Linked DNA regions of Homo sapiens: all the other regions are linked to region 7. The links are contacts of gene promoters, found by promoter capture Hi-C in blood cells and fetal thymus (Javierre and others, 2016). All regions are on one chromosome and are shown on one strand. Each heading gives the region's core, a stretch centred on a gene start or on the middle of the fragment in contact. The rest is flanking DNA. Distances are from core to core; before and after follow the strand shown.

Region 1 (3,793 bases), core at 617-3,116, 480 kb before region 7:
TTTTTTGAGACAGAGTCTTACTCTGTCATCCAGGCTGGAGTGCAGTGGCGCAATGTCAGCTCACTGCAACCTCTGCCTCCTGTGTTCAAGCAATTCTTGTGCCTCAGCCTCCCGATAGCTGGGATTATAGGCTCACGCCACCACGCCCGGCTAATTTTTGTAATTTTAGAGGAGATTAGCTTTCACCATGTTGGCCAGGCTGGTCTCAAACTCCTGGTCTCAGGTGATCTGCCTGCCTTAGCCTCCCAAAGTGCTAGGATTACAGGCATGAGCCACCACGCCTGGCTACAGAATCACTTTCTTAGTATCCTGTCTGAAGAAGTTCATTCTGAAAAAGACAGCCAGGTGCAGAGGCTTGCAACTATACTCCCAGCACTTTGGAAGACCAAAGCAGAAGGATTGCTTGAGTACAGGAATTTGAGATCAGCCTGGGCAAGAAAAGTGAGAACCTGTCTCCACAAGTAATCAAAAAATTAGCCAGGTGTGGTGGTGCAAACCTGTAGTCCCAACTACTTGGGAGGCTGAAGTGGCAAGACTGCTGGATCCCAGGAGTTGGAGACTGCAGTGAGCCGTGTTTGTACCACTGTACTCCAGACTGGGTGACAGAGAGAAACCCTGTCTCAAAAAATAAATAAATAAATAAAATAAAAAACCAAAATCCCCCACAAAGTCTCTAAAAAAGGAGAAAAAGACAGTATTTCGAATTGTTTCATAATGTATACATATTTTTTGAGACAGAGTCTTGCTCTGTTGCCCAGGCTGGAGTGCAGTGGCATGGTCTCGGCTCATTGCAACCTCTACCTCCCTGGTTCAAGCGATTCTCCTGCCTCAGACTCCCAAGTAGCTGGGATTATAGGCATGCACCACCACACCTGGCTAATATTTTGTATTTTTAGTAGAGATGGGGTTTCTCCATGTTGGCCAGGATGGTTTCGAACTCTTGACTTCGTGATCCGCCTGCCTTGGCCTCGCAAAGTGCTGGGATTGCAGGCGTGAGCTACCGTGCCTGGCCTTTATAATGTAATTTTTTTAATTAAGGAAAAGATGGCAAGCAAAATAATTAGTTCATATGGCTGAATTATAAACTTCTGAGAAGTTGTTTTAAAGTACTCCTATGAAATATGAAATAATTGTTCTACAGCTGAGAAACTGCCCTAAACATACAGCTTGTTCAAAGACAATACCTTGTACCATAATAAAGTCCAATTTACCTATACTTGACACTAATTCTCAACGAATAAAAATGTAAACAATTACTGAGGTTGAAGCTTAACTTGGAAGAAAAGTTTCCTGTAGAAATTTGTAAGATTGCAAGGAGTACCAGCTGACATAAAGTTTAGCCTTGAGAGAATATTAATGAAGTTAGTTTCCTATCTCATTACAATGAAACTTCCAAATAGTTTCTAGCAGGTAACATTTTGTTAGCCTTGATTTCACATTTGAAAGAAAAATGTATGTTTCAAATTCGTAACTCAATTTTTTTTTTTTTTTTTGAGACGGAGTTTCACTCTTGATGCCCAGGCTGGAGTGCAATGGCGTGATCTCGGCTCACCGCAACCTCTGCCTACTGGGTTCAAGAGATTCTCCTGCCTCAGCCTCCCAGGTAGCTGGGATTACAGGCATGCACCACCACACCCCGTTAATTTTTTTGTATTTTTAGTAGAGACAGGGTTTATCCGTGTTGGTCAGGCTGGTCTCGAACTCCTGACCTCAGGTGATCCACCTGCCTCGGCCTCCCAAAGTGCTGGGGTTACAGGCATGAGCCACTGTACCTGGCCCATAACTCAATTTTACCGCAAATTCCCAATCTCTTTTTGAAGAATAAAATTTCTGAAGTTTTACTAAATTACAAAGGTAACATGATAATCCCCTTCTTTCAATTTCAGCAGAATACAAATAACAAAACAGCTACAAAGAGTCATGTATACTCTGCTATTTTTAGTAGAAACACAAACACTGCCAGTTTAGTAGTAAATGACAACTTTACGTTGAAGGATATTTACCAGTCATGCTGAACACATGCCACACAGAAAAATAATTTTTTTTTTTTTTGAGATAGAATCTCACTTTGCCGCCCAGGCTGGAGTGCAGTGGCACGATCTTGGCTCACTGCAACCTCTGCCCTCCGAGTTCAAGTAATTCTCCTGCTTCCTCCCAAGTAGGTGGGATTACAGGTACCTGCCACTGTGCCTGGCTAATTTTTGTATTTTTAGTAGAGATGGGGTTTCACCATCTTGGCCAGGCTGGAGAATAATTGTTTCCTTATCAAAACAAACAGGAAGGAGTAGTTAAAATAAGTTTTGGCCATAAAATAAACCTGTGTTTTGACTGGGTCAGCAAGAAGTAATTTAAAAAATGTGCAATAGCTGATTAGACTTCTAAGATTCTGGTGAGTTTTGACTTCAACAGTTTAAACAAGTAAAATATTACACCAAGACACAGATTTGGTTGGCAAATAAGCTTTAAAGAAGGAACATTGACCAGGCGTGGTGGCTCACGCCTGTAATCCCAGCACTTTGGGAGGCCGAGGCGGTGGATCATGAGGTCAGGAGTTCATGACCAGCCTGGCCAAGATGGTGAAACCTTGTCTCTACTAAAACTACAAAAATTAGCCGGGCACGATGGCAGGTGACTGTAATCCCAGCTACTCAGGAGGCTGAGGCAGGAGAATTGCTTGAACCAGGGGGCGGACGTTGCAGTGAGCCATGATCGTGTCACTGCGCTCCATCCAGCCTGGGCAACAGAGTAAGACTCTGTCTCAAAAAAAAAAAAAAAAAAAAAAAAAAAAAGAACATTGTTATCTGTAGGAATCCTACATAGATATCCTGTGAAAAAAAAAAAAAAAGAAAAAATATTCCTCAGGGAACGGAGACTCTTTCAATGTTATTATTTGTAAATGAGAGTAAGAAAACAGCAATTTGCGCAGTATAGAGTGAGAACAGTAATAGCATCTTGCAGAAGAAACAAGTTAGGCGATCAGAACATGGACACAATAGCTCTATGTTAATATAAAAAACGTGCGATTTAACTTAACATGCACATGAGAAGGGAAAATGCTCAGACAGAATCGAGAATTTCAGAGAAAAAACCACACAACTCCGGATGAGAAAAACTGGAGTTATGGTGAGCCCTCACACAGCAGTGCAAATGTAAATTCTATAGAGAGGGATAGAAAAAATTCAGATGTCACTCACCAGTCATTTTCAGACTCAAAGTAACAAACAGAAATGAGTCGTGCTCCACTTCCCACAGCAAATTTGTTCTCTAGGGGGGACCACTTCACAAAAGTAGCTGCGCGATTAATTCTCAGGATCACCAGGGTTGGCTTCCAAACACCATCTTTCTGACTCCAGACATAGGCATTGCGGTCTGCCCCACAAGTGACAATGCGGTCGCTCTTGGGAGCCCAGTCAATACCTGCAAGTGAGACATGGGTCATCTGCTTTGCCCAGTCAATGACAAACAACTGCGGCACAGGCAGGTGGGTGGCACTGGCATGCCAGGATGAGACGTGGTCTTGGGACCTTCCTCCCAGGCACATCCTTCCCACTATCTATGTCCTGATCACCGCCTCAAGGAAAGGCAAGGATGCTTCTCTGCAAAGCGTCTGGGACTCGGGATTGTCTATGAGGTCATGTAGAAGAGCTGTTTTATAATTACAGACTTTACAAAACTAAACGGGGCCATTCTTTCCACCCATTCACACATTTCTAAGACTTCTAAAGATCTGAAGATTCATTACTTCTTTCTTTCCTCTTTATTAGATTTTTGTGTGTGTGAAAATAACTGTATT
Region 2 (3,976 bases), core at 490-2,989, 470 kb after region 7:
ATGTGTTATTTCCCCCTAACATCAGGAAGACATAACATTTTGGTTCCCAAGAATGGTAAGTTTTTTTTGTTTGCTTGTTTGTTTTGAGACAGAGTCTCACTCTCTTGCCCAGGCTGCAGTGCAGTGGCATGAGATCCCGGCTCACTGTAACCTCCGCCTCCCGGGTTCAAGCGCTTCTCCTGTCTCAGCCTCCCGAGTAGCTGGGACTACAGGTGCCTGCCACCACACCCGGCTAATTTTTGTATTTTTAGTAGAGACGGGGCTTCACCATATTGGTGAGGCTGATCTCTAACTCCTGACCCCAAGTGATCCACCCACCTTGGCCTCCCAAAGTGCTGGGATTACAGGCGTGAGCCGCTGTGCCTAGCTGCATGATGTGTTTTATAGTTTGCAAAACCCAATAAAACAGTCCCCAAGTCCAGGTGGTGGTTTCTGTTCTAAGTCCAGTGGTACTCACCCTCTTGATGTTCCCATCTGGGCCACACAGTGCCTTCATTGTGTATATTTCCTAGTGAACTTTATCACAAGATTAGTTTAGAAGTCTCACATCTTTCTTTTTTCTTTTCTTTTCTTTTTCTTTTTTTTTTTTTTTTGAGACAAATTTTCGCTCTTGTTGCCCAGGCTGGAGTGCAATGGCGTGATCTCACTCACCACAACCTCAGCCTCCCAGGTTCAAGTGATTCTCCTGCCTCAGCCTGCTGAGTAGCTGGGATTTAGGCATGCACCATCAAACCTGGTCAATGTTGTATTTTTAGTATAGACGGGGTTTCTCCATGTTGGTCAGGCTGGTCTCAAACTCCTGACCTCAGGTGATCTGCCTGCCTCAGTCTCCTAAAGTGCTGGCATTACAGGCGTGAGCCACTGCGCCTGGCCAGAAGTCTCACATCTTAACAGCCCATAAAAGATGCAATTGCACTCACATAGACGTTTTGGCATTTTTGTTTGTTTTTTGAAACAGAGTCTCACTCTGTGGCCCAAGCTGGAATGCAGTGGCACCATCACAGCTCACTGCAACCTCTTGGGCTCAAGCCATCCTCCTACCTCAGCCTCCGGAATAGCTGGGACTACAGATGCACACTATCACACTTGGCTAATGTTTTTAATTATATTTTTTGCAGAGATGGGGGTGGGCTCCCTATATTGCCTAGGCTGGCCTCGAACTCCTAGACTCAACCAGTCCTCCTGCCTTGGTCTCCCGAAGTGCTCGGATTACAGGCATGAGCCATCCTGCCTGGCCCCCAGATAGAAGCTTTTTGTTTGTTTGTTTTTGAGACAGAGTTTCGCTCTTGTCCCTCAGGCTGGAGTGCAGTGGTGCTATCTCAGCTCACTGCAATCTCTGCCTCCCAGGTTTAAGCAATTCTCCTGCCTCAGCCTCCCGAGTAGCTGAGATTACAGGTGCACGTGCTACCATGCCTGGCTAATTTTTGTATTTTTAGTAGAGACGGGGGCAGGGCGGTTTCACCATGTTGGCTAGGCTGGTCTCGAACTCCTGACCTCAAGTGATCCGCCTGCCTTGGCCTCCCAAAGTGCTAGGATTACAGGCATGAGCCACCAAGCCCAGAGGTTTTAAAAAATCAGAATAAGACCTCTGCCCTTGTTGGGTGCGGGTCTCAGGTAGCTAAATGGTGGTTCTTACTGGGGAGAAGGCTGTCACCCAGCCCAAGGTACATAATCCTGGAAGAGAGGCCCAAAGAAGGCAGCTGCCTCACCCTTGGGCAGGGCTGAGGCCGGGATGGAGACAAAATAGGGAGCCCAGGAGCCACACACCTCCACAGAGTTTGAGTGATGACAAGAAGAGAGGCTTCCCTAACACTTCAGCTCAGGTGGTTTTCTAAACCCTACAACAATCTCGTGAGTAGCATGGTTACACTGCATTGAGTTAAAGGTCGTTGTTAATGTAAAGTTTAAAAATGTACTACTGGGCCGGGCGCGGTGGTTCAAGCCTGTAATCCCAGCACTTTGGGAGGCTGAGCAGGGCGGATCACCTGAGGTTAGGAGCTCGGGACCAACCTGGCCAACATGGTGAAACCCCGTCTCTACTAAAAATACAAAAAAATTAGCCTGGCTTGGTGGCACGTGCACCTGTAATCTCAGCTACTCGAGAGGCTGAGGCAGGAGAATTGCTTAAACCTGGGGGGCAGAGATTGCAGCAAGCTGAGAGAGCACCACTGCACTCCAGCCTGAGGGGACAAGAGTGAAACTCTGTCTCAAAAACAAACAAAAAGCTTCTATCTGGGGGCCAGGCAGGATGGCTCATGCCAGGCAGGAGAATCGCTTGAACCTGGGAAGCGGAGGTTGCAGCAAGCTGAGATCGCACCACTGCACTCCAGCCTAGGCGACAGAGTGAGACTCCATCTCAAAAAAAAAAAAGTACTAACATTTCGGTAACTAGACCCTGGCATTTATTAATTTTTTGATATATCAGGAGCTTTCAAAACTGCAAGTGGCAGCCCGTTTTCTCCACCTAGGAGGGCCGATGCCCCCACGGGTCCCTCTAACTTTTGGGGTCAGTGAGCGGCGGGGCAAGAAGAGATCAATCAGGGAAATCAATACAACTGGGGAATGTGGCCCCTTCCCTTGGTCCCCAAAACGCAGGGCTTGAAGGAAGCCCTCATGGAGGAAGTGGGCCTCGGGGTCCCCGGGGCCAGCACCACGCGAGGCAAACAAGGGCTCCAGGACCACAGTCTAAACACCCCCAGGCTGCCCTTGCCCTAGCAAAACAGCAAAGCGAGCAGCCCACTCCACACCGGTCCCCACTCCAGGGTCTCGGGCCCTACGTCGCCGGAGCTCTGGGAGAGCCGCGAGGGGGCGCACCGTGGCCTCGCTGCCCTGTCCGCCACAGGTGGGGTGACCCCGCCCACTCGGGGGGCCCGCTTCCCTCTGGCCACGCCCATTCCAGCTGCCTGGCCCCGCCTCCTCCCCGCCCACCCCGGCCGGGCCCCGCTCACCAGGCCGCCTCAGGTGGGTACGCCACGCCCCTCCGGCCCTGCGGCCCCGCCCCCGTCTGCCCCGCCCGCCTCAGGTGGGGCCGCCCGGCCCGCCCAGCTTCCTCTGGCGGCGTCCGGCCGCTTCTCCTCTGCTCCTCGAAGAAGGCCAGGGCGGCGCTGCCGCAAGTTTTGACATTTTCGCAGCGGAGACGCGCGCGGGCACTCTCGGGCCGACGGCTGCGGCGGCGGCCGACCCTCCAGAGCCCCTTAGTCGCGCCCCGGCCCTCCCGCTGCCCGGAGTCCGGCGGCCACGAGGCCCAGCCGCGTCCTCCCGCGCTTGCTCGCCCGGCGGCCGCAGCCATGTCCCGGGGGCCCGAGGAGGTGAACCGGCTCACGGAGAGCACCTACCGGGTAAGCCCAGGGCCCGGGGCTCAGGGAGGTCAGGGCTTTCCACCTCGGGGTTCAGAAGGGGACTTTACGCGGGAAGGTACTTTCCCTCCCTCCAGCTCCCCTCCCCCGCGTCCTTCCACCTCTCCCGGTCTCTCCCACTCCTCCCCTGGCCCTCCACAGCCCCTCTTCTTCCTCCCCTGGCCCTCTCCTTCCTCCCAGTCCCTCCCCATCCCCTCCCCCCTACTTTTCCTCCTCCTTCCCTCCCCTCCTCCCTGTGCTTCTTCCCTGTCTCTCTTTCCCGCCCCGCTGTACCTCTCCCTCTGCCCCTCCGCTCCCCGTTCACTCTCCCTCCTCCCCTGCCCCTCGACACTGTCCCTCCCCTCCTCCTGGTTCTTCCTTCTCCCCCGTGTGTCTCCCCCTCCTCCCCTGTCCCTTCTTCTCCCCAGTCTATCCCCCTCCCTCCCCCTCCCCCTCCCCCTCCTCTTGGTTCTTCCTCCTTCCCCGTGTGTCTCCCCCTCCTCTCCTGGCCCTTCTCCGCCTCCCCTGTCCCTTCTCCTCCCCGTCCCTTCTCCTCTTCCCTGACCCTCAGAGCTCTGGAGACCACCCCCCATCCCCTGACCAGCTACACATTTTACAACTAGTGCACTTAAGTTGGGGAG
Region 3 (4,333 bases), core at 1,711-4,210, 490 kb after region 7:
GGCTGGAGTGAAATGGCACAATCATAGCTTATTGCAGCCTCCAACTCCTAGGCTCAAGCAAATTCTCCTGCCCCAGCCTTCTGAGTGGCTGGGACTACAGGCGTGCACCACCACGCCCAGCTAATTTTTTTTTTTTTTCTTGTAGAGACAGGGCCTGCCTCACTTTGTTGGCCAGGCTGGTCTCGAACTCCTGGGCTCAAGCAGTCCTCCCACCTCAGCCTCCCAAAGTGCTGGGATTAAAGGCATGAGCCACTGCATCCAGCCCTTGAAGGTTTATTTAATCCCTTATCGTGGTGGCGCATAGTAAGAACTCAAGAATTTTGTGTTTTAAATGCTGAAGACCTGTGCTGATCACACAGGGGTGACTGAAATCATCACCAACTCTTTGGTGGCACTGAGATCGTGTCAGTAATAACAACTGCCATGTTGTGAGCACCTGTTAGGTACGGGCTGAGCTTTTACCACCAACATGAGTTCTTCCCGCAGCTGTTTTCTTGAGCACCACAGCTGTGCCAAGCACCATGGTTACCACCAGAAACCACGCTGGAGAAAAGACAAAGAAGGTCTGTGCCCATCCAGAGTTTATAGCTGTGACAGGACAGCAACCCCAAGTTCTAGTAGCCGCAGCCCCTCTCCTCCGCCTGGACCTGCCCATGTCGTAAATTAAACATCCTTGCTCCTTCCCTACCCTCTGTCCCAGCGGGGGCTGGCCTTTACAACTTCAATATTTGGACTTGGTTTTGTCTCAATATGGGAAGAAAGAAGGAAAAGCTTAATACGCGTGTAGGTTAAGTTTGAGAGGAGTTTTAAGGCGATGTACAGTCTTTAAGGAAGTCTTTGGAAGGCCAGGCACGGTGGCTCACGCCTGTAATCCCAGCACTTTGGGAGGCCGAGGCGGGCAGATCACGAAGTCAAGAGATCAAGACCATCCTGGCCAACACGGTGAAACCCCGTCTCTACTAAAAATACAAAAAATTAGTTGGGTGCAGTGGCGGGCGCCTGTAGTCCCAGCTACTCGGGAGGCTGAGGCAGGAGAATCACTTGAAACCTGGAGGCAGAGGTTGCAGTGAGCTGAAGTGGCACCACTGCACTCCAGCCTGGCGACAGAGCGAGACTCTGTCACCAAAAAAAAAAAAAAAAAAAAAAAACCTTTGGAAAGTTGAATATAGGAGAGAAGTCGATGAGAGACAAAAAAAAGTTCTCGGAAAGAACATTGTAGAAATGTTGATTCCTGCTTTTGGCTCTCTGACCAGCACCATGGCGGTTGGCAAGAACAAGCGCCTTACGAAAGGCGGCAAAAAGGGAGCCAAGAAGAAAGTGGTTGATCCATTTTCTAAGAAAGATTGGTATGATGTGAAAGCACCTGCTATGTTCAGTATAAGAAATATTGGAAAGACGCTCGTCACCAGGACCCAAGGAACCAAAATTGCATCTGATGGTCTCAAGGGTCGTGTGTTTGAAGTGAGTCTTGCTGATTTGCAGAATGATGAAGTTGCATTTAGAAAATTCAGGCTGATTACTGAAGATGTTCAGGGTAAAAACTGCCTAACTTCCATGGCATGGATCTTACCCGTGACAAAATGTGTTCCATGGTCAAAAAATGGCAGACAATGATTGAAGCTCACGTTGATGTCAAGACTACCGATGGTTACTTGCTTCGTCTGTTCTGTGTTGGTTTTACTAAAAAACGCAACAATCAGATACGGAAGACCTCTTATGCTCAGCACCAACAGGTCCGCCAAATCCGGAAGAAGATGATCGAAATCATGACCCGAGAGGTGCAGACAAATGACTTGAAAGAAGTGGTCAATAAATTGATTCCAGACAGCATTGGAAAAGACATAGAAAAGGCTTGCCAGTCTATTTATCCTCTCCATGATGTCTTCGTTAGAAAAGTAAAAATGCTGAAGAAGCCCAAGTTTGAATTGGGAAAGCTCATGGAGCTTCATGGTGAAGGCAGTAGTTCTGGAAAAGCCACTGGGGACGAGACAGGTGCTAAAGTTGAACGAGCTGATGGATATGAACCACCAGTCCAAGAATCTGTTTAAAGTTCAGACTTCAAATAGTGGCAAATAAAGAGTGCTATTTGTGAAAAAAAAAACAACAAAAAAAAGAAATGTTGATTCCTGGCTGGGTGTGGGGGCTCCTGCCTATAATCCCAGCACTTTGGGAGGCTGAAGCAGGCAGCTTGCTTGAGGTCAGGAGTTCGAGACCAGCCTGGACAACATAGTGAAACCCCATGTCTACGAAAAAAACAAAAAAATTAACTGGGCATGGGGGCGTGTGGCTGTAATCCCAGCTACTCTGGAGGCTGAATCGCTTGAGTCCGGGAGGTCGAGGCTGCAGTGAGCAGAGATTGCGCCACTGCACTCCAGCCTGGGCAACACAGCAAGAACCTGTCTCAAAAGAAAAAGAAATGATTTCCCCTTACTGGTATCTGAGAAATAAAAGTAAAGAATTTAAACTGTTTTTAAATCATTTGGAGTTTTTGAACAATTCCTCAGATCGCAAAGGCCGCAATTTTATTTTATTTGAGACAGAATCTCGCTCTGTCACCCAGGCTGGAGTGCAGTTGGCACAGTCTTGGCTCACTGCAGCCTCCGCCTCCTGGGTTCAAATAATCCTCCCACCTCTGCCTCCTGAGTAGCTGGGATTACAGGTCCCTGCCACCATGCCTGGCTAATTTTTGTATTTTTAGTAGAGATGGGGTTTCACCATGTTGGCCAGGCTGGTCTTGAATTCCTGGCCTCAAGTGATCTGCCCACTTCAGCCTCCCAGAGTGCTGGAATTATAGGCATGAACCACTGCACCCACCCAGCTGCGATTTTAAGACAATAGAATGAGGTTGATTGCCGTGGCTCATGCCTGTAATCCCAGCACTTTGGGTGGCCAAGGTGGTTGGATCACCTGAGTTCGGGAGTTCAGCACCAGCCTGGCCAACATGGCAAAATCCCATCTTTACTAAAAATACAAACATTACCCAGGCGTGGTGGCGGGCACCTGTAAACCCAGCTACTTGGGAGGCTGAGGCAGGAGAATCGCTTGAACCTGGGAGGCCGAGGTTGCAGTGAGCCGAGATCGTGCCACCTACGCTCCAGCCTGGGCAACAGAGCGAGACTCCATCTCACAAAAAAAAAAAAAAAAAAAAGGTAGAATGATCTGTCTCACAGAGTCTGGTTGAAGGAAGTTAGCTAGAATGATTCCAGATACTACTATAAAAGTAGCATTTGGAAAGAACTAGTGCAGTAAGTCAGTGTACTTTGATCCGATAAAGTTCCTGTTACCTGTTCAGTGCTCTGGGGCTTTCTAAACAACGTAACCCAGTGCATAAGATGTCCTTTCCTGTAAATTTATTGATTGCTTTTTTATTCCAGGACACACCTTTTAAAAACAGTAACTAGGCAGGCAAGAGCACTTAGTCAAACAGCCTAGTATACTCTGTGGTCTTCAAAGTATGTATCTTTTAACAGCTATTTCAGAATCAGTAACTAATCAGTTACTGGTCCTTAATACATGCCATTTATCTGTAGTTTTATATTTCTAAATGATAACGTAATATTTCAGGTGTTTGCATTTCTTATTTTCACCACGTCTCTGTGAATTGCCTTGGTATTTCTTTGTACCTGTTTCCGTGTAAGACGGTACATTTCCAAGGACTGGAGCTCTTTCTTTTTTTTTTTTTTTTCTGAGACGGAGTTTCACTCTTGTTGCCCAGGCTGGATTGCAATGGTGCGATCTCGGCTCACTGCAATCTCCGCCTCCCAGGTTCACGTGATTCTCCTGCCTCAGCCTCCTGAGTAGCTGGGATTACAGGCACGTGCCACCACGCCCAGCTAATTTTTGTATTTTTAGTAGAGACAGGGTTTCACCTTGTTGGCCAGGCTGGTCTCAAACTCCTGACCTCAGGTGATCTGCCCGCCTCAGCCTCCCAAAATGCTGGGATTACAGGCGTGAGCCACCACACCCGGCCTGGAGCTCTTTCTTCATTCATCTTTGTGTTTCCTGGGTCCAGGATGGGGTGGGCTCAACGTAGGCATAATAATAAATGTTGCAGAAATGTGTAGATTTTTATGTGTTTGAAAGCCTGAAATGTGAGACTTTACAGAGTTGGTGGAATGAAACGTAAGTACACACATTCACATGTTACTTCTCTGTCTCTCCCACACATGCACAAACTTACACAAAGAGGAGATCCCAGAAAAGAGGCACATTTTCAGATTCTGGTTGAAATGTTACTTTTAAGACTGAAAGTTATGGCCGGGCGCAGTGGCTCACGCCTGTAATCCCAGCACTTTGGGAGGCCGAGGTGGGTGGATCACCTGAGGTCTGGAGT
Region 4 (3,912 bases), core at 1,340-3,839, 450 kb before region 7:
TGGCCTGAAACCTGAGGGTTTTGATACAAGGCAGGGAGGGTTGGGGGGCTGGCCACCTGCTCTGGCCTTACTGGTTATACCATCGTGCCCTGCTATAAAAGCCAACCATCAGGGTTCTAAGGAGGGTGAGTTACTTTTAATGTTTGTTTTTAAGGCATGTGTGATGTAGTATCCAAAATGCAGACTCAACCTTTTAAAAGATTAGTATCATGGGTGAGGGGCAGCTGTCTGGGCTGGTGGTACGTGGGTAAAAGGATTTACCAAGACAGTTGTAGATAAAGGCAGATTTGTTAGAGAAAGTAGGAAGGTACGAGAAGGCAACAGGCAGAATCAGCAGAAGAGCAGCCAACTGCAAAGAAAGGCTTGCTGGGGATTTTATGGAATAGTGTTTATGCTGTAATTGTTGGGCGCAGGAAGATTGTGAGTTATTTGCAGAGGAGGGCTGTGTGTCTGGACCATAAAGAATGGCAGACTTGTAGTTTACCTGCTTCTTTTTGCTTCCCCCTGCTCCCACCATCCTGACTCCTTTTCCCTAATTAGACTTAACAATTAGTGCCAGGGAAGGTGGTACTTAGAAGTGGGCAATGGAAGAGAGGGAGGGGTTGGACACTACCGTGGGCTGATTTTGTTTGCTTTGCTGATTGGATTGGAATTGGAATTGAGTTGAATTAGAATTTGGTCAAGATTCAAGGCATCAAATATTTAATAAATACTCACCAAGTGCCAACTATTGTGTTAATAAGAGTAGAGTAAGATCCTTCTGTTCTCAAGTAACTTAGAGATTAGGATATGACCAGTCCACAAAATATTTTATCTTATTTTTAGACCAGGGATGCTGCTAAAATAATTTTAAATAAAAGGAAATGCACAATACCTTGAATCTGGAAGGTCCTGGTTAACATTCGTTGAATGAAAGTGCAAATGAATGAAAGAAAACAATTTGGATGTCAAAGGACACAGAGGTTACTGCTAGTTGAGAATGGAAGGTGGGGCTTATATAGACACATCAGGAACATAATCCATCATAGTTTAGGAAGGTTACATGTTTGTAAAGGCGTAAGGATTTCCTTCTCAGGAGAGCTTGATTTAATAACTGGAATGTGGAGTTGGAGAGTAAGAAGATTGTTTCTTGCTTGTTGTGCCAACAGCTGAAATGGTGAACAATTACTGCAGATCTTCCAATAATGCCTGCCATCTAGTCACCAAAAAAACTGTTGGAAATACTGAATCAATGCCAATAAAAGCTATAAACAAACAAAAGGACAAAACTATTAATGCATATTGTGTGTTATTAGTTAACAATAATCCTTATGCTTTAGATATTGTCCTAATTGCTGGGTATGTTCCCAGTGAGGAAAACTTCCTATGGAAAGGATTTTGTAGAGTTCAATACAGGTGAACTGAAAAGTGCATGTGGATTTTTCCACTGCTCACTCAGTTCATTTCCATAGGACAGAGATGGGACCAGTCACGGGATGTCTAGGGGCACAGGGTAGTCTCAGGTGGTGTGTATAAATAGCATATTATCGCAAATACCATACTTGTAAGACAATCATACAAGCAGACTTGGGAATTCCCTGTGTTACTTACCTAATTTAATAAGTGAAATCTGTAACCCATGAACCTGTAAATCTCCTCAAGGCCAGAGCCACTTAGACATTTTGTTACCGACACATTTTTCCATGTTATGCAAGCTTAGATTATTTTAATAAAATCATTCTGGAGCCATCTAGCACCCTCATCCACCAGTCATTTCATTAGCATAGAGAGACACACTTATCACTCCAGAGATTGCAAAGGTCTTAAAAGCTCCTGTGTGAGGAACTGGGAGCTAAGACCAAATATTATAACAAAAGATGTTTCAGTTACTGATGGACAAGTACAAGGTGTGTGGGAAGGGACACAGAGCTTCCATATCCTCTGGGCACACCACCCTCCCAGCACCACCACGTGTTCTCTAACCCAGATGCTCTCCAAACCTCATCATTTAAGGTTTTTATGGATGTTCTATAATGTAGGCATGATTGATTAAATCACTGGCCATTGGTAATTGAAATAAATCTCCAGCTCCTCTCATCCCTGGAGGTGGAGGGGTGGGACTGAAAATTCCTACCCTCTAATCACAGAGTTGGTTCCTCTGGCAATTAGTTTCTTTCTGGAACCATCTAGCACCCTCATCCACCAGACATCTCATTAGCATACAAAAAGACACTTACCACTCCAGAGATTCCAAGGGGCTTAAAAGCTCCTACGTGAGGAACTGGGAGCTAAGACCAAATATTATAACAAAAGAGGTTAGGCTGGGCACGGTGGTTCACAGCCTGTAATCCAGGCACTTTGGGAGGCTGAGGTGGGTGGATCACCTGAGGTCAGGCATTCGAGACTAGCCTGGCTCACCCGGCAAAACCCTGTCTCTGCTAAAAATACAAAGATTAGCCTGGCGTGGTGGCAGGCACCTGTAATCCCAGCTACTCGGGAAGCTGAGGCAGGAGAATCGCTTGAACTGGAGATGCAGAGGTTGCAGTGAGCCGAGATCACCCCACTGCACTCCAGCCTGGGGGATACAATGAGACTGTCTCAAAAAAAAAAAAAAGATGTTCCTCTCACCCCTGTTATACAGGGTAGTATAACAATTTTAAAAGCTCTGTGTCAGAAACAAAATAGATATTTCTTTTTTTGTTTTTTGAGATGGAGTCTCGCTCTGTCGCCCAGGCTGGAGTGCAGTGGCGTGATCTCGGCTCATTGCAACGTCCGCCTCCCAGGTTCAAGCGATTCTCTTGCCTTAGCCTCCCGAGTAGGTGGGACTATAGGCATGTGTCATCATGCCCAGCTAATTTTTTGTATTTTTAGTAGAGATGGGATTTCTCCATGTCGGCCAGGATGGTCTCGAACGCCTGACCTCAAGTGATCCACCTTGGCCTCCCAAAGTGCTGGGATTACAGGTGTGAGCCACTGTGCCCGGCCTATATTTCTTATTATGTCACACTTGGATCATTTTATGTGTCAACTTGACTAGGCCACAGGGTGCCCAGATATTTGGTCAAACAGGATTCTGGGTGTTTCTGTGAGGATACTTTTGGGTGAGGTTGACTTTTAGATCAGTAGATTGAATAAAGCAGATTGGCCTCCCTAATGTGGGTGGGCCTCATCCAATCAGTTGAAGACTTGAATAGAACAAAAGGCTGACCCTCTCCTGAGTAAGAGAATATTCTCCTTCCTGATGGCTTTTTTTTTTCTCAATCCTGGAGCCAATCCAAGATCAATTGTTGCACTTAATTTTTGTTTCTTTAGTCTGATCTGGAACAGATCTTCACCTCAGTGTTTCTTTTTTTTTTTTTTAGAGATGGGGTCTTGCTGTGTTGCCCAGGGTGGAGTGCAGTGGCTATTCACAGGTGTGATCATAGCTACTATAGCCTCAAACCCTGGGTTCAAGTGAGTCCTTTGAACTAGAACATTGGCCTTTTCTGGTTCTGCAGAAGCTTCCAGCCTTCAGATTTGAACTGGGACACTGGCTCTGCAGATTTTGGACTTGCCAGCCTTCATAATTGTGTGAGTCAATTTTCCATCTCTTTATATCTCTATCTAATATCTCCTATTTGTTCTGTTTCTCTGAAGAATCCTGACTAGTATAACAGGTATTTCCTAAGACTCCCCAACCTTGGAGGGCCCCAGACTCCTGAAAGGCTGTCAAAAGTACTGCTTAGGGCTGGATGTGGTGGCTCACACCTGTCATCCCAGCACTTTGGGAGGTCGAGGTGGGCGGATCACCTGAGATCAGGAGTTCAAGACCAGCCTGGCCAACATGGTGAAACCCTGTATCTACTGAAAATACAAAAATTAGCTGGGCGTGGTGGCGCACACCTGTAATTCCAGCTACTCCAGAGGCTGAGGCAGGAGAATCTCTTGAACCTG
Region 5 (4,027 bases), core at 277-2,776, 450 kb after region 7:
TGACAGGGAGAGACCCTGCCTTGGAAATAAACAAATGAAATAAACAAAATAAAATATCCAGGATCTGTCCACCTGGACACTTGTCCCCACCTCTGCTGTCACTGCCCAGTGTGAGCCACAGATTGCTGTCTCCTGAAATATACAAGTGCCCCCCAACTTCCATCCTTCCATCCTGCCCCACCCCTGCATGCTGTCTATCTCTCCCCAGATGTCAGAGAGATCCTTTACAAACATAAATCATATGTCAGGCTAGGCGCAGTGGCTCACACCTGTAATCCCAGCACTTTGGGAGGCCGAGGCGGGTGCATCACCTGAGGTCGGGAGTTCAAGAGCAGCCTGACCAACACGGAGAAACCCCATCTCTACTAAAAATATAAAATTAGCCGGTCATGGTGGCGCATGCCTGTAATCCCAGCTACTTGGGAGGCTGAAGCAGGAGAATGGCTTGAACCCGGGAGGAGAAGGTTGCAGTGAGCCAAGATCATGCCATTGTACTCCAGCCTGGGCAAAAAAAGCGAAACTCTGTCTCAGGATGAATAAATAAATAAATCATATCATGTCATGTTTGGGTTCCAATCCCTACCATGGTTCCCAAGTTCACGCCGAAAACATGGTGACATCCTCCCGTGGCCATGAGGCTCCACATGACCTGGCCCCTCTTATTTCTCTGACCTCACTTCTCACCTGGTTCACCCACCACCCGCTTGATCTTCCTGGAATACATCAGACACACCTCCAACCTTTGGTGTATCCCTGGCTGCTCCCCTGCCTGGGACCCCCTTCACGCCAGGTACCTGCACAGCTTACTGCCTTCTTCCTTTTCAAATATTACTTTCTCAAAGAAGCCCACCTTGATCACATCTTCACCATTCCATCTTCCTTCCCCTCCACCCTTTCCGTCCCTTTTTTTTTTTTTTTTGAGACAGGGTCTTGCTCTGTTGCCCAGGCTGGAGTGCAGTGGCTCAAACACAGCTTACTGCAGCCTCAGCCTTCCTGGCTCAAGCCGTCCTCCTACCTCAGGCTCCTGAGTAGCTGGGACCACAGGTGCACACCACCATGCCCGGTTATTTTTGGGTTTTGTTAGAGATGGGGCCTTGCTATGTTGTCCAGGCTGGTCTTGAATTCCTGAGCTCAAGCAATCCTCCTGCCTCAGCCTCCCAAAGTGCTGGGATTACAGGCATGAGCCACCACACCTAGTCCCCAGCAATACCATTGATCCTGCTCAACATTTTCTTTTCTCCATTGCTCTAATCTCCTAGCAATCTATAAAATTCTATGATCTTCTTATTGTTGCATCAGTCAGAACAGGCCAGGTTATACTGCTGTAACATACACTGCAAACCCCAAAATCTCAGTGATGTAAAAAAATGTTTATTTCTCACTCATGCTTCATGACTCAGGGATCTATACTGATTAAACAGACTTCATTTTAAATATTTCCAGTTCTCATGCCTGGGGCAGAGGGAAAGCTCTAGGGGGCCTCTCACCAGCAATTAAACGCTCAGCCCTGAAGTATGGCATCACCACTCCTCACAATTCATTGGCCAGAACTGGTCACATGATTTCAGCCAACCATAAGAGAAGCAGGAAGTAAAATTGTACCATGACTGGGCTCCATGGCTCAAGCCTGTAATCCCAGAATTTTGGGAGGCCAAGGTAGGAGGATCGCTTGGGCTCAGGAATTCAAGACTAGCCTGAGCAACATAGCAAGGCCTCACCACTACTTAAAAAAAAAAAAAAAAAAAGAAAAGAAAATTTAAAAATTTGTGGGTTTTTTTGTTTGGTGTTTTTTTTTGTTGTTGTTTGCAGTTTTTTTGTTTGTTTGTTTGTTTTTTGTTTTTTTAGGTGGAGTCTCGCTGCAGTGCCCAGGCTGGAGTGCAATGGCACAATCTTGGCTCACTGCAACCTCCGCTTCCCAGGTTCAAGTGATCCTCCTGCCTAAGCCTCCCAAGTAGCTGGGACTAAAGGTCCATGCCCAGCTATTTTTTTGTGTGTTTTTAGTCTACCATATTGACCAGGCTAGTCTCGAACTCCTGACCTCAGGTGGCCCACCTGCCTTGGCCTCCCAAAGTGCTGGGATTACAGGCATGAGCTGAGCCACCATGCCCAGCCAAAAAAAATTTTCTACTAATTAAAGAAAAATTAAAAATCCTACCATGTACCAAGAAGGGGGAGTATTTGAAATATTTAGAGAACAGCACTAATGACTACTACAGTTTGTCCATTTTTATCACTTGTCTTCCCCCTTTAAAAGGTAAACTACACAAAAGCAAGTATCCCCAGCACCTAGAACAGTGCCTAGCACATAGGAGGTGCTCAGTAAATATTTTTTTTAGTAAGTGGATGGATTACATTATTATATTCACATCTGGAATTGAAAGTTAAGAGCTAATGTAAACTCCTTTTTTTTTTCTTTTTGAGACAAGGTCTCGCTCTGTCACCCAGGTTGGAGTGTAGTGGTGTGATCATGGCTCACTGCAACCTCAGCCTCTTGGGCTCAGTGGATCCTCCCACCTCAGCCTCCTGAGTAGCTGGGACTACAGGCACGCACCACCACACCTGGCTAATTTTGGGTGGGGGGCGGGGCGGGGGTTGTTAGAGACAGGGTCTTGCTATGTTGCCCAGGCTGATCTCAATCTGCTGGGTTCAAGCGATCCTCCTGCCTTAGCTTCCCAAAGTGCTGGGATTACAGGCGTGAGCCACTGCCTCTGGCCAAAGCCCAATTAAACATATACACTGCAAACATGAAGGACATGTTCTTAATCTATTCCTGTGGTGTTCTTGAAGCCCATGAAATTGATTTCAAAAAAATTTTTAAGAAGGGGTCTTGTAACGTTCACCAGGCTCTCAAAGATACCTCTAAAACAGATCAGAAACAAGTGATCCACTTTGGGAGGCCAAGATGAGTGGATCACTTGAGGCCAGAAGTTCAAGACCAGCCTGGCCAACGTGGTGAAACCTTGTCTCTACTAAAAATACAAAAATTAGCTGGGTGTGGTGGCTCATGCCTGCAGTCTCAGCACTTTGGGAGGCCATGGCGGGAGGCTCAGTTGAGGCCAGGAGCTCAAGACCATCCTGGCCAACATGGTGAAACCCCATCTCTATTAAAAATACAAAAATTCGCCGGGGTTGGTGGTGCACGCCTGTAATCCCAGTACTTGAGAGACTGAGGCACGAGAATCGTTTGAACCGGGAGGCGGAGGCTGCAGCGAGCCGAGATCGTGCCCCTGCACTCCAGCAACAGAGATCCTGTCTGGAAAAAAAAAAAAGTGTTTAATTAGTTGGGTATGATGATGCACACCTATGATCCCACCTACTCGAGAGGCCGAGGTGGGAGGATTGCTTGAGCCCAGGAGGATGAGGCCGTAGTGAGTTGTGATTGCGTTACAGTACCCTAGCCTCGGAAACAGGGTGAGACTCTGTCTCAGAAAAAAAAAAAAAAGATAACAGTTGAGTCATTTCACCTGTTCGTGCCTCAGTCTCCTCGTCTATGCAGCAGACCTGGGGCGGGGATCAGCTAACAGGTGCTGGCTATACCGGCAGGTGATTCCCGAAAGCTGGACCCACTCAGGGAAGGTGCGACGCGCTTACCTGTGCAGCCAGCGCGCCATCTAGTGGACGCAGTGGGCAGTCAGCGCAGCTCCCCACACACCTGCCCCTCCTGACTCCCAGGCTACCGCTAGGGCTCAGGAAGGTTTGACGGACTCCAGTTCTATGAAACCGTAGCGCAAGGCAGGCCCCTTAGCCTTCCCTGCAGGGGAGAGTGGAACTCCAGGGCTGCTGCCTGTCACGATCCTCTCCTTTCGTCCATCCACAACTCTGATATAGCACACTCAGGAAGAATAAGACTGGACAGGTGTGGAGAGGGAGAAATTGACTTAGCACACTATTTATTTATTTATTTTGAGACAGTGTTCGAGATCAGCCTGGGCAATATGATGAAACCCTGTTTCTACTAAAAATACAAAGATTAGCCGGGCGTGGTGGTGCACACCTGTAATCCCAGCTACTCAGGAGACTGAGGCAG
Region 6 (4,169 bases), core at 375-2,874, 510 kb after region 7:
ACCCACAGCTTCCAGCCGGCAGTGACGGGCTGCACGCCTCAATACAAACTGGCCATCAGGGATCACCACACGTTTGAGGAGAGTCTCTAACATGAAAGACAGGGATATCAAACAGTGAAAGGTAATCAGGAGATGATACGGGAACTAGAATAAAACACACCAAAAAATTCAGACAGGAGAAGATACTGCATCTATAAAACAAGAACAGGAGAGTACTTTTAAAAAGAAGCAATCAAAAGGCTGGGCGTGGTGGCTCACACCTGTAATCCCAGCACTTTGGGAGGCCAGGGCGGGCAGATTGCTTGAGCTCAGGAGTTTTAGACCAGTCTGGGCAACATGGCAAAACCCTGTCTCTACCAAAAATACAAAAAATTAGCCAGGCGTGGTGGCGCATGCCTGTGATCCACCCCCCGCAGCTACTTGGGAGGTTGGGGCACGAGGATCACTTGAGCCTGGGAGGCCGAGGTTGTAGTGAGCCAGGATCACACCACTGCACTCCATCCTGGGCAACGGAGTGAAACTCCATCTCAAAAACCAAACCAAAACAAAAAGAGCAATCAAGAAACATGAACATGCTCTTAGAAATTAAGATATATCAAATTCAAAAAATAGAATTGGAACATAAAGTTGAGGATATCTGTTAGCGTTATAGAACAAAACTACTGAAAGTGGAAAATCAAAAAAGATTAGAGAATAAATCCAGGATATATAAAATCTTCATCAGAGTTCCAGAAAGAATGAAGAGACAAGAAATAAAACAGGAATGATATTTGTACCTGAAGGACATAATTTTCCACATGGCTAGGGGTCCCACTGAGTGTCCGGTAAAATAAATGAAAAACAAACAAAAAAAATGCTGGGACAGACCATGGTGCAATTTCAGAACACAGGAATAAAGAGAAGGCTTCCAGAAATAAGCTTTAAAAAAAAGTCACATAGGAAGAAATGGCAGCTGACTTCAGCAGACCCAGATGCTAAAGACAGTGGAGTAATAGCTCTTTTTTTTTTTTTTTTTTTTTTTTTTTTTTTTTGAGACATATCCTCACTCTGTCACCCAAATTGGAGTGAAGTGGTGCAGTCACAACTAACTGCAGCCTCAAACTCCTGGGCTCAAGTGATCCTCTCACCTCAGCCTCCCAAGTAGCTGGGACCACAGCCACAAGCCACCACCCTTGGCTAATTGTTTTTATTTTTTGTAGCGATGGGAGTCTCGATATGTTGTCCAGGTTGGTCGCAAACTCCTGGGCTCAAGTGGTGATCCTCCCACTTCAGCCTCCCAAAGTTCTGGGATTACAAGCATGAGCCATCACGCCTGACCAAGTGATGTCTTAAAAATTCTAAGGAAAATAGTTTCAATCTACTCTGCTCTACTCAGCAAAATAGCAAACGTCAAGGTAAAGATAATTTCAGACACACGGGGACTCAGATTTACCTCTCACGCATTAGTTCTTAGATCATTTTTGGAATGTGATCTCCATTTTGGAGAAATAGGAAGACGTGGACCTACCTGGCTGACAAGAGCGCTGCCACAGGCCACCAGGAGGGCCATGCTAGGGCAATCGTGACAGTCAAGCCACACTGAGCAAGATGGTGGAGAGTCCTTAGAGGAAGTCAAGGGAAAAACGGAACAGGAGATTAGCTGAGAGTTTTGTACATTTGAAAAATAACACTGATAGGCCTCAGCCAAGTCTAATACAGCATGGGGACAAGTTTAAGGTAGATAAACAGAAAACTAAGCAAAGGTGGCGGGGCGGAAAGAAACAATTGTCCATCCCAGGAAAAACAGCCAGGCTTTACTGAGAAAGGGAACCATCAGCCTTAGTGCAAAGTCATAATGAACACTGACTATAGTTTCATCAGCAAATTGCCATCTAATTGCATAGAAAGTCCATTGGAAAGGAAGAGTGAGAGGTATAGAGACCTGAGGCCTCATCTGCTGTCGTAGGAAGCTGCAGTTACTCCCCAAAATCAAGAAATCAAGAATATTTAAAAAAAAAAAGAATATTCAAAACTGCAGCAATAAATACAAAAATAGGAGCATAGTTGAAAGTGCTCTCGGGCATAAGACCAGGGCTATGGAAAGGTCGAGGCATGGGTTGTTTTTCATTGTTATCACAGTTTGATTAAAAACAAGAGTCGTCCTATTCTCTCTCTCCTCCTGATTCATTTATTCTGAAGGGTATGTGTGTAAAGCACCTGCCTCTTTGAATGTTGGGTAGTTGTTCATTCTTTTTTGCATCTGGTCGTCTATATAAATGGAGCATGCATTTGGGGAAGGGGTCGGTGAGACTTGAATGGTCTCTTTGGGGTGATTAATATCATGAAGCTTATTGTTCCTAGATGGAACAAACACATAACAATCGCCACGTGTTGTGAGTCGTGAAGTCTGAGTACCGTAGGAATGACTTATTGTCTGTACTTCAAAGTTAGGGTATTTTAAAATTTAGACCCACGTCCTAAATAGTTATTTGTCTTATACTTGTCCTAGCATTTGTCTTTATGACTTTCTGCTGATACAGGAATAACACGTGTTGAAATGAAACCTGGACACTGGCTGCACCATGAAATCCATGAGAGGGAAACTGTGCCTTCTAATCCTTAGCTGTGTGCACAGGGTCTGGCCCATGGTAGTTACTCCACACAACTTTGGTGAATAAACCAATCAGTGGGAAAATGCCAGGGAGGCAGGGCGCAGTGGCTCGTGCCTGTAATCCCAGCATTTTGGGAGGCCAAGGTACGCGGATAACCTGAGGTCAGGAGTTCGAGACCAGCCTGGCCAACATGGTGAAACCCCGCCTCTACTAAAAATATAAAAATTAGCTGGGTGTGGTGGTGGGCTCCTGTAATCCCAGCTACTCGGGAGGCAGGGGCAGGAGAATTGCTTGAACCTAGTAGGCGGAGGTTGCAGTGAGCTGAGATCGTGCCACTGTACTCCAGCCTGGATGACAGAGTGAGACTCCGTCTCAAAAAAAAAAAAAAAAAAAAAAAAAGAAAAAATGCCAGGGACATCCAGAAGTTTCCAGGCAGGCCTGTGTCCTGGGGCCATCAGCAACATGCTACCAATGCCCCCTTTCACGTCCCTCCCCGCCCACACCCCTATAATTAGGCAGAGTAAAAACAAAATCTCCTGGAAATTTCTATTCAGTGGATAGAAATTCATCGAAATCTATTTGAAACATTGCCTTTGTAAGTAAGTACAGGTAGCTGATCCTCCACAGGCGTTCCTTAACACTAGAATGAGAACCATTAGCAATCCACTCAAACCCAAGAGGATGCCAGGCCTACAGTCCCTGCAGGGTATGGTAGAGACATGAATGACTGCTGCCTGCTCCGCTTATAGCAGATTCCAGGCAGCCTCTTGGGCAACTGAGAACTGCCAGGGTTACGGGCACCTTGCCACCTGTGAGCCCTGTTCCATCAGGTAAGGGAATAGGTGTGCTTCATTATTTTTACATCAGCATTCATTACTTTGTAGACTGTGCTGTTAGGCATCCATAGCTATCCTGGGCCACACAGTGACAAAATCTGAAGATGACTTGGTTTATTTTTTATTTTATTAATTTGTGTGTTTTGTTTGTTTGGCAGAATGTTATGGAACAGTTCAATCCTGGGCTGCGAAATTTAATAAACCTGGGGAAAAATTATGAGAAAGCTGTAAACGGTAAGTCTGTTTTTCTGAATTGATTATATATAAAGCCACTCAGTAAATATGTAATTATTTTTAAATGCTTAGTATTGAATTTTTAAATACCTTTAAGTGGTTAAAAATTGTTCACAATGAATTTAATCTACAGAACTTTGCAATGACAGTACACAATGATATTAGCGTATTTGAAACAAGTCAATTGAATGAAAGTGAGGGTACTCTAAGTGATGTCTTTTAACTATAAAACCGTGCTTTCTACTTTTAAAACCAAATTCTTGGTAAACTAACAAATATAAAATGTGTACATGAGACATTTATAAGTTAGGGTCCTACAGCACAGAAATTATTCTCCTTTTATGTATATAAAAGAATTTCTTGTCTTTAGATGTATCACTTTTTTCATCTTTTTTTCCCCGATGTGTCACTTTTGATAGTTACATGAGAAACAATATTTTTAGCTTGAATGAAATTAGCTGCACGTGGTGGTGCGCGCCTGTAGTCCCAGCTACTCAGGAGTGTGTGG
Region 7 (4,021 bases), core at 1,048-3,547:
GGTTTCACTGTGTTAGCCAGGATGGTCTCGATCTCCTGACCTCATGATCTGCCCGCTTTGGCCTCCCAAAGTGCTGGGATTACAGGCGTGAGCCACCGCAACCGACCCCCCCAACTTTTTTTTTTTTTTGAGACGGAGTCTTGCTCTGTTGCCCAGGCTGGAGTACAGTGGTGCAATCTTGGCTCACTGCAAACTCCGCCTCCAGGTTCAAGCAATTCTCCTTCCTCAGGCTCCCAAGTAGCTGGGATTACAGGCGCCTGCCACCGAGTCTGGCTAATTTGTGTATTTTTAGTAGAGACGGGGTTTCACCATCTTGGTTAGGCTGGTCTCGAACTCCTGACCTCGTGATCCACCCGCCTCGGCCTCCCAAAGCGCTGGGATTACAGGTGTGAGTCACCATGCCCTGCCCTGTCTAGCCCTTTTAACTTTTCATAGGGGCTCACTCAAATCTATTCTCCCTCCATTCCCTGAACATAGCAGTGGGGCCAGTGGGGCCCATTCTTAGGGAAGCTCACAGCTGTCCCAGAGCCAGGGGCCCTTTAGACCAGTAGTCCCCAACCTTTTTGGCACCAAAGACAATGTTTCCACGAATGAGGGGTTGGAGGGATGGTTTCGGGATGATTCAAGCGCATTACTTTTATTGTATACTTTATTTCTATTATGATTACATACTCACCATCATGTAGAATCAGTGGGAGCCCTGAGCTTGCTTTCTTGCAACTAGATGGTCCCATCTGGGGATGATGGGAAACAGTGACAGAACATCAGGCATTAGATTCTCATAAGGAGCACGCAACCTTGATCCCTCACGTGAGCAGTTCACAGTAGGGTTTGCGCTCCTATGAGAATCTAATGCCCTGCTGATCTGCCAGGAGGTGGAGCTCAGCGTGGCTCACAGGCCCTGCTCACCTCCTGCTGTGCAGCCAGTTCCTAACAGGCTATGGACTGGTACTGGCGGCCAGGGGCTTGGAGACCCCTGCTTTAGACGCCTTGATGTCAATGCACTGGGTGGTGCAGTGATGGTCCATCCGTGCTCCACGGGCCAGAGAGGAGGTCAAAGGCCCTCACTGTGTGGGAGGATCCCTCGCCCAGGTAGCCGTAGCAAAGCGGAAGCATAGCTGGGACCAGAACCCACCGGGCTTCCAGCGTTTAAGGCCAGCCAGGCCCCTCCAGCTTCTAGGAGAGCCCAGCCCTGCTCCTCTAAGGCAAATGGCAGTAACTGTGTAGGCTGGTCACCCCTCACCGCAGTAGCCTGACTCCCACAAGGCCCTCAGTGACAAAGAAGTTGCCCTGGGCCCAGATACGAGCAGGAGCCCCATCTTAACAGCAGCTGTGAGAGGGTAAACCGGGGGATGACATCAAGCCCACGGCAGGGGCCGGGTGCTCAGGCCCCTCTATCAAGAAGGGGCAAGAGGCTGGGCACAGTGGCTTACACCTGTAATCCCAACATTTTGGGAGGCTGAGGCGAGAGGATCACTTGAGGCCAGGAGTTTGAGACCAACCTGGCCAACATGGTGAAACCCCGTCTCTACTAAAAATACAAAAATTAGCCAGGCCTGGTGGCGGGCACCTGTAATCCCATCTTACTAGGGAGGCTGAGGCAGGAGAATCGCTTGAACCCGGGAGGCGGAGGTTGCAGTGAGCCGAGATCGCGCCATTCTGGGACAGAGCGAGACTCTGTCTCAAGATTAAAAAAAAAAAAAAAAGAAAAGAGGAAGCAGCAGCAGCAGCAGCAGCAAGAGGAATTTCGAGGCCTTTCGCCCAACGCCTGGCGCACCTTAAGCTCTCAACAGTTCTTGAATGAGGAGTAGCATCTCGGAGCCACGAGCGTGCAGAGAGAAGGCACCTGGAGGAGAGCCCCAAGGGACCTGCAGGCGGCTTGCAGCGCAGCGCACGCCCCTGGGGACGCTGAGTCAGAGCCGGCGGCATCGGATCCAGGGCGGGGAGGGGCTCGGGGGAAGGGAAAAATGCGGGTGCGGGGGGCGTGGTTTCGGGTAGTGGAGGGGAAGGATGCGGCCGGGGGTGGATTTGGGGTGGGGAGGGATGCGGGGAGGAGCCAGGGCGCAGGAAGGGAGCTCTGGAACCCCTAGAGGGGAAGCAAGCTGGGAGGGGCGATCGTGGACTCCAGGAGGGCAGGGGGCGCGGCCGTGGGAAGAGACCCGGAGAGGGAGGACGCGGCCGTGGAGAGGGACGCGGGAGCAAGGGGCGGCGGGAGGAGGAGGAGGGCGCGCGGCGCGGCTGACGTGGGCCGGGGTCGCGCAGCGGGCTGTGGGCGGCGGCGGCGGCGCGCAGCGACAGAGCGTCCCCCGGCGAGGACGAGCGAGCACGGCGCCCGCACCTCCCCGCACCGCCCGCGCTGCGCGCCCGGAGGAGCGACCGCCGCAGTTCTCGAGCTCCAGCTGCATTCCCTCCGCGTCCGCCCCACGCTTCTCCCGCTCCGGGCCCCGCAATGGCCCAGGCAGTGTGGTCGCGCCTCGGCCGCATCCTCTGGCTTGCCTGCCTCCTGCCCTGGGCCCCGGCAGGGGTGGCCGCAGGTAAGGCGCTGGGCAATCCGGCCTCCCTGCAGCCGCAGCCCGCCCGGGGCCTGGAACCGTCTCAGCGGGCGAGTGGGCCCGGGAGCAGGGATTGCGGAGGTGGCACCGTGCGCCCTGCGCGCATCTCCCTCCTCGGCTGAGGCCACTGCAGCGCCCTTTCCCCTCTCCTTTCATCCTTGTTCCCCAAAGTCGCCTGGGCACTGGAGGGGGCTCCCCGCACCCCCTGGATTCCTGCTTCCACCCCCCCAGGCTGGCCCTGCCCTGGAAACCGCGCGGGGGTGGCCGGCGCATCCGTCGATGCCTGGGGACCATGCACCCGCTAAGGGAGGGGAGGACGAGGCAGGGAGGCGGGGATGCGCCAGGGTCCGTCATCGCGCCACAATTCCCCAGTCCCCCAGGGAGCACGGGATGGGCAACGTTTTTGCCTTAAAATGTCGCCTCATCTAGAGGGGTTTCCCACCGTGTTGGTGCTGGCTTTGGGGAGATGCGAATTTAGAGCCCAGGAGGCCAGGCTGCCATTTCCTCTCTGGTGGTGATTTCCAAAATGGACCCGGAGCTGACAGGTTCCTGGGGTGTGTGTGTGGGTGGGGGAGTGGGGGAAGCAGGGTTGTGTGTCTACTGCCCCCACTTCCCCACCGCCAGAAAGCCAGCACCCACCTCTCTGCCACATTTTGGGAACCATAAAAGGACCCAGATTTAAGACTATTCGAGGGACAGATGGGACGTGGGCAGCTAAGAAGGTTGAATACTATCCACCACTTTTCACCCCCTCCCCCCTCATAAAAGAGCGGTGGAGAGAGAGAGCAAGGGATCTAATGAAAATTTGTGAAAGAAAAACCATGAGGTCAAAGAAAACCTGCAACTCAGGGATGAATTAGACGAATTTTATGGGAATTGCACTTGGACAAGATTACCTATTTCCTCCTGGAAATACAGGAAAGGGGTCTCTTGTCCATCAGGTTGATTTGTGTCAGAGATTTTCAATGTGTCCTAAATTGCAAAAGAAAAAGAAAATAATAACAAAAGTGAATTAATTATTTGGAAATCATGTGTGGTTCCCATTCTAGCCAATTGCACCCTTGATGTGGTCAAAATCACAGTGGCTAAGAGTGGAGTTGGGAAACATCTTCTCCCTCACCCGTCGGGGAGACTTTTCTACCCTTCCCCTTTCTGGAGTCCATGAATCAGGGATTTGTAAGTCAGAAGTCCATGTACTGGACTATTAATTAATTCTGGGTTGTGTTATCCAGACTTTAGAGGTACTCTTTGGAAGTGTTTTGGGTAGTCTGCATATTCTGTGTGAAAGGACTGGTGTAGCCATTTTCTAGAATGTTCAGGGCTGCACATGCTGTGTTGCTGGAAAAGGTAGGTGTTTCTTCCATGGGCCAAGCTTTGGGGTGAGTGCCCCATCTCTTTTTGCTTTTGCCCCTTGAGCTCTGGGTGACTTGGGGGGCCCTTGGAGTCCCCTAAACCTCTGCCTTGGCTGC

What was found. Contacts are between HindIII fragments. The CHiCAGO score rates a contact against its expected background, and 5 or more counts as called.
Region 1: a fragment that was not itself captured here is called in contact with the fragment with the promoter of TMEM130 in region 7 in 1 of 17 cell types (monocytes); the score reaches 5.7 in monocytes.
Region 2: a fragment that was not itself captured here is called in contact with the fragment with the promoter of TMEM130 in region 7 in 1 of 17 cell types (naive CD4 T cells); the score reaches 5.4 in naive CD4 T cells.
Region 3: a contact is called between a fragment that was not itself captured here and the fragment with the promoter of TMEM130 in region 7, in 1 of 17 cell types (endothelial precursors). The highest score is 7.3, in endothelial precursors.
Region 4: a contact is called between a fragment that was not itself captured here and the fragment with the promoter of TMEM130 in region 7, in 1 of 17 cell types (fetal thymus). The highest score is 6.0, in fetal thymus.
Region 5: a fragment that was not itself captured here is called in contact with the fragment with the promoter of TMEM130 in region 7 in 16 of 17 cell types (M1 macrophages, M2 macrophages, naive CD8 T cells and 13 more); the score reaches 16.1 in M1 macrophages.
Region 6: a contact is called between a fragment that was not itself captured here and the fragment with the promoter of TMEM130 in region 7, in 3 of 17 cell types (endothelial precursors, naive B cells and total B cells). The highest score is 7.6, in endothelial precursors.

The regions. Positions count from the first base shown.
Region 1 is chr7:99,343,917-99,347,709 of GRCh38, reverse strand. It overlaps ARPC1A (actin related protein 2/3 complex subunit 1A), which reads right to left. Exons shown (of 10, transcript NM_006409.4): 4 at 3,195-3,417. Among named protein-coding and RNA genes, the nearest start is that of ARPC1A, 20 kb to the right of the region's middle. The HindIII fragment of the contact is 1,192 bases long and covers 1,271-2,462 here.
Region 2 is chr7:98,400,164-98,404,139 of GRCh38, reverse strand. It overlaps BAIAP2L1 (BAR/IMD domain containing adaptor protein 2 like 1), which reads left to right and starts at 3,050. Exons shown (of 14, transcript NM_018842.5): 1 at 3,050-3,338. The coding sequence starts at 3,288. RefSeq lists a silencer at 2,717-3,376. The HindIII fragment of the contact is 976 bases long and covers 1,252-2,227 here.
Region 3 is chr7:98,383,509-98,387,841 of GRCh38, reverse strand. All of the region lies in intron 1 of BAIAP2L1 (BAR/IMD domain containing adaptor protein 2 like 1), which reads left to right. It also overlaps the pseudogene RPS3AP26. Among named protein-coding and RNA genes, the nearest start is that of BAIAP2L1, 15 kb to the left of the region's middle. The HindIII fragment of the contact is 4,374 bases long and covers 774-4,333 here.
Region 4 is chr7:99,318,874-99,322,785 of GRCh38, reverse strand. It overlaps LOC105375421 (a long non-coding RNA gene), which reads left to right. Exons shown (of 4, transcript XR_927798.3): 2 at 3,342-3,549. Among named protein-coding and RNA genes, the nearest start is that of ARPC1A, 5.1 kb to the left of the region's middle. The HindIII fragment of the contact is 1,785 bases long and covers 1,697-3,481 here.
Region 5 is chr7:98,420,778-98,424,804 of GRCh38, reverse strand. No RefSeq gene overlaps it. Among named protein-coding and RNA genes, the nearest start is that of BAIAP2L1, 22 kb to the right of the region's middle. The HindIII fragment of the contact is 9,559 bases long and covers 1-4,027 here.
Region 6 is chr7:98,361,849-98,366,017 of GRCh38, reverse strand. It overlaps BAIAP2L1 (BAR/IMD domain containing adaptor protein 2 like 1), which reads left to right. Exons shown (of 14, transcript NM_018842.5): 2 at 3,586-3,661. Among named protein-coding and RNA genes, the nearest start is that of BAIAP2L1, 37 kb to the left of the region's middle. RefSeq lists an enhancer at 2,848-3,609. The HindIII fragment of the contact is 1,408 bases long and covers 921-2,328 here.
Region 7 is chr7:98,868,290-98,872,310 of GRCh38, reverse strand. TMEM130 (transmembrane protein 130) reads left to right here and starts at 2,297. Exons shown (of 8, transcript NM_152913.3): 1 at 2,297-2,534. The coding sequence starts at 2,450. RefSeq lists enhancers at 2,227-2,812, 2,813-3,399. The HindIII fragment of the contact is 4,583 bases long and covers 1-3,926 here.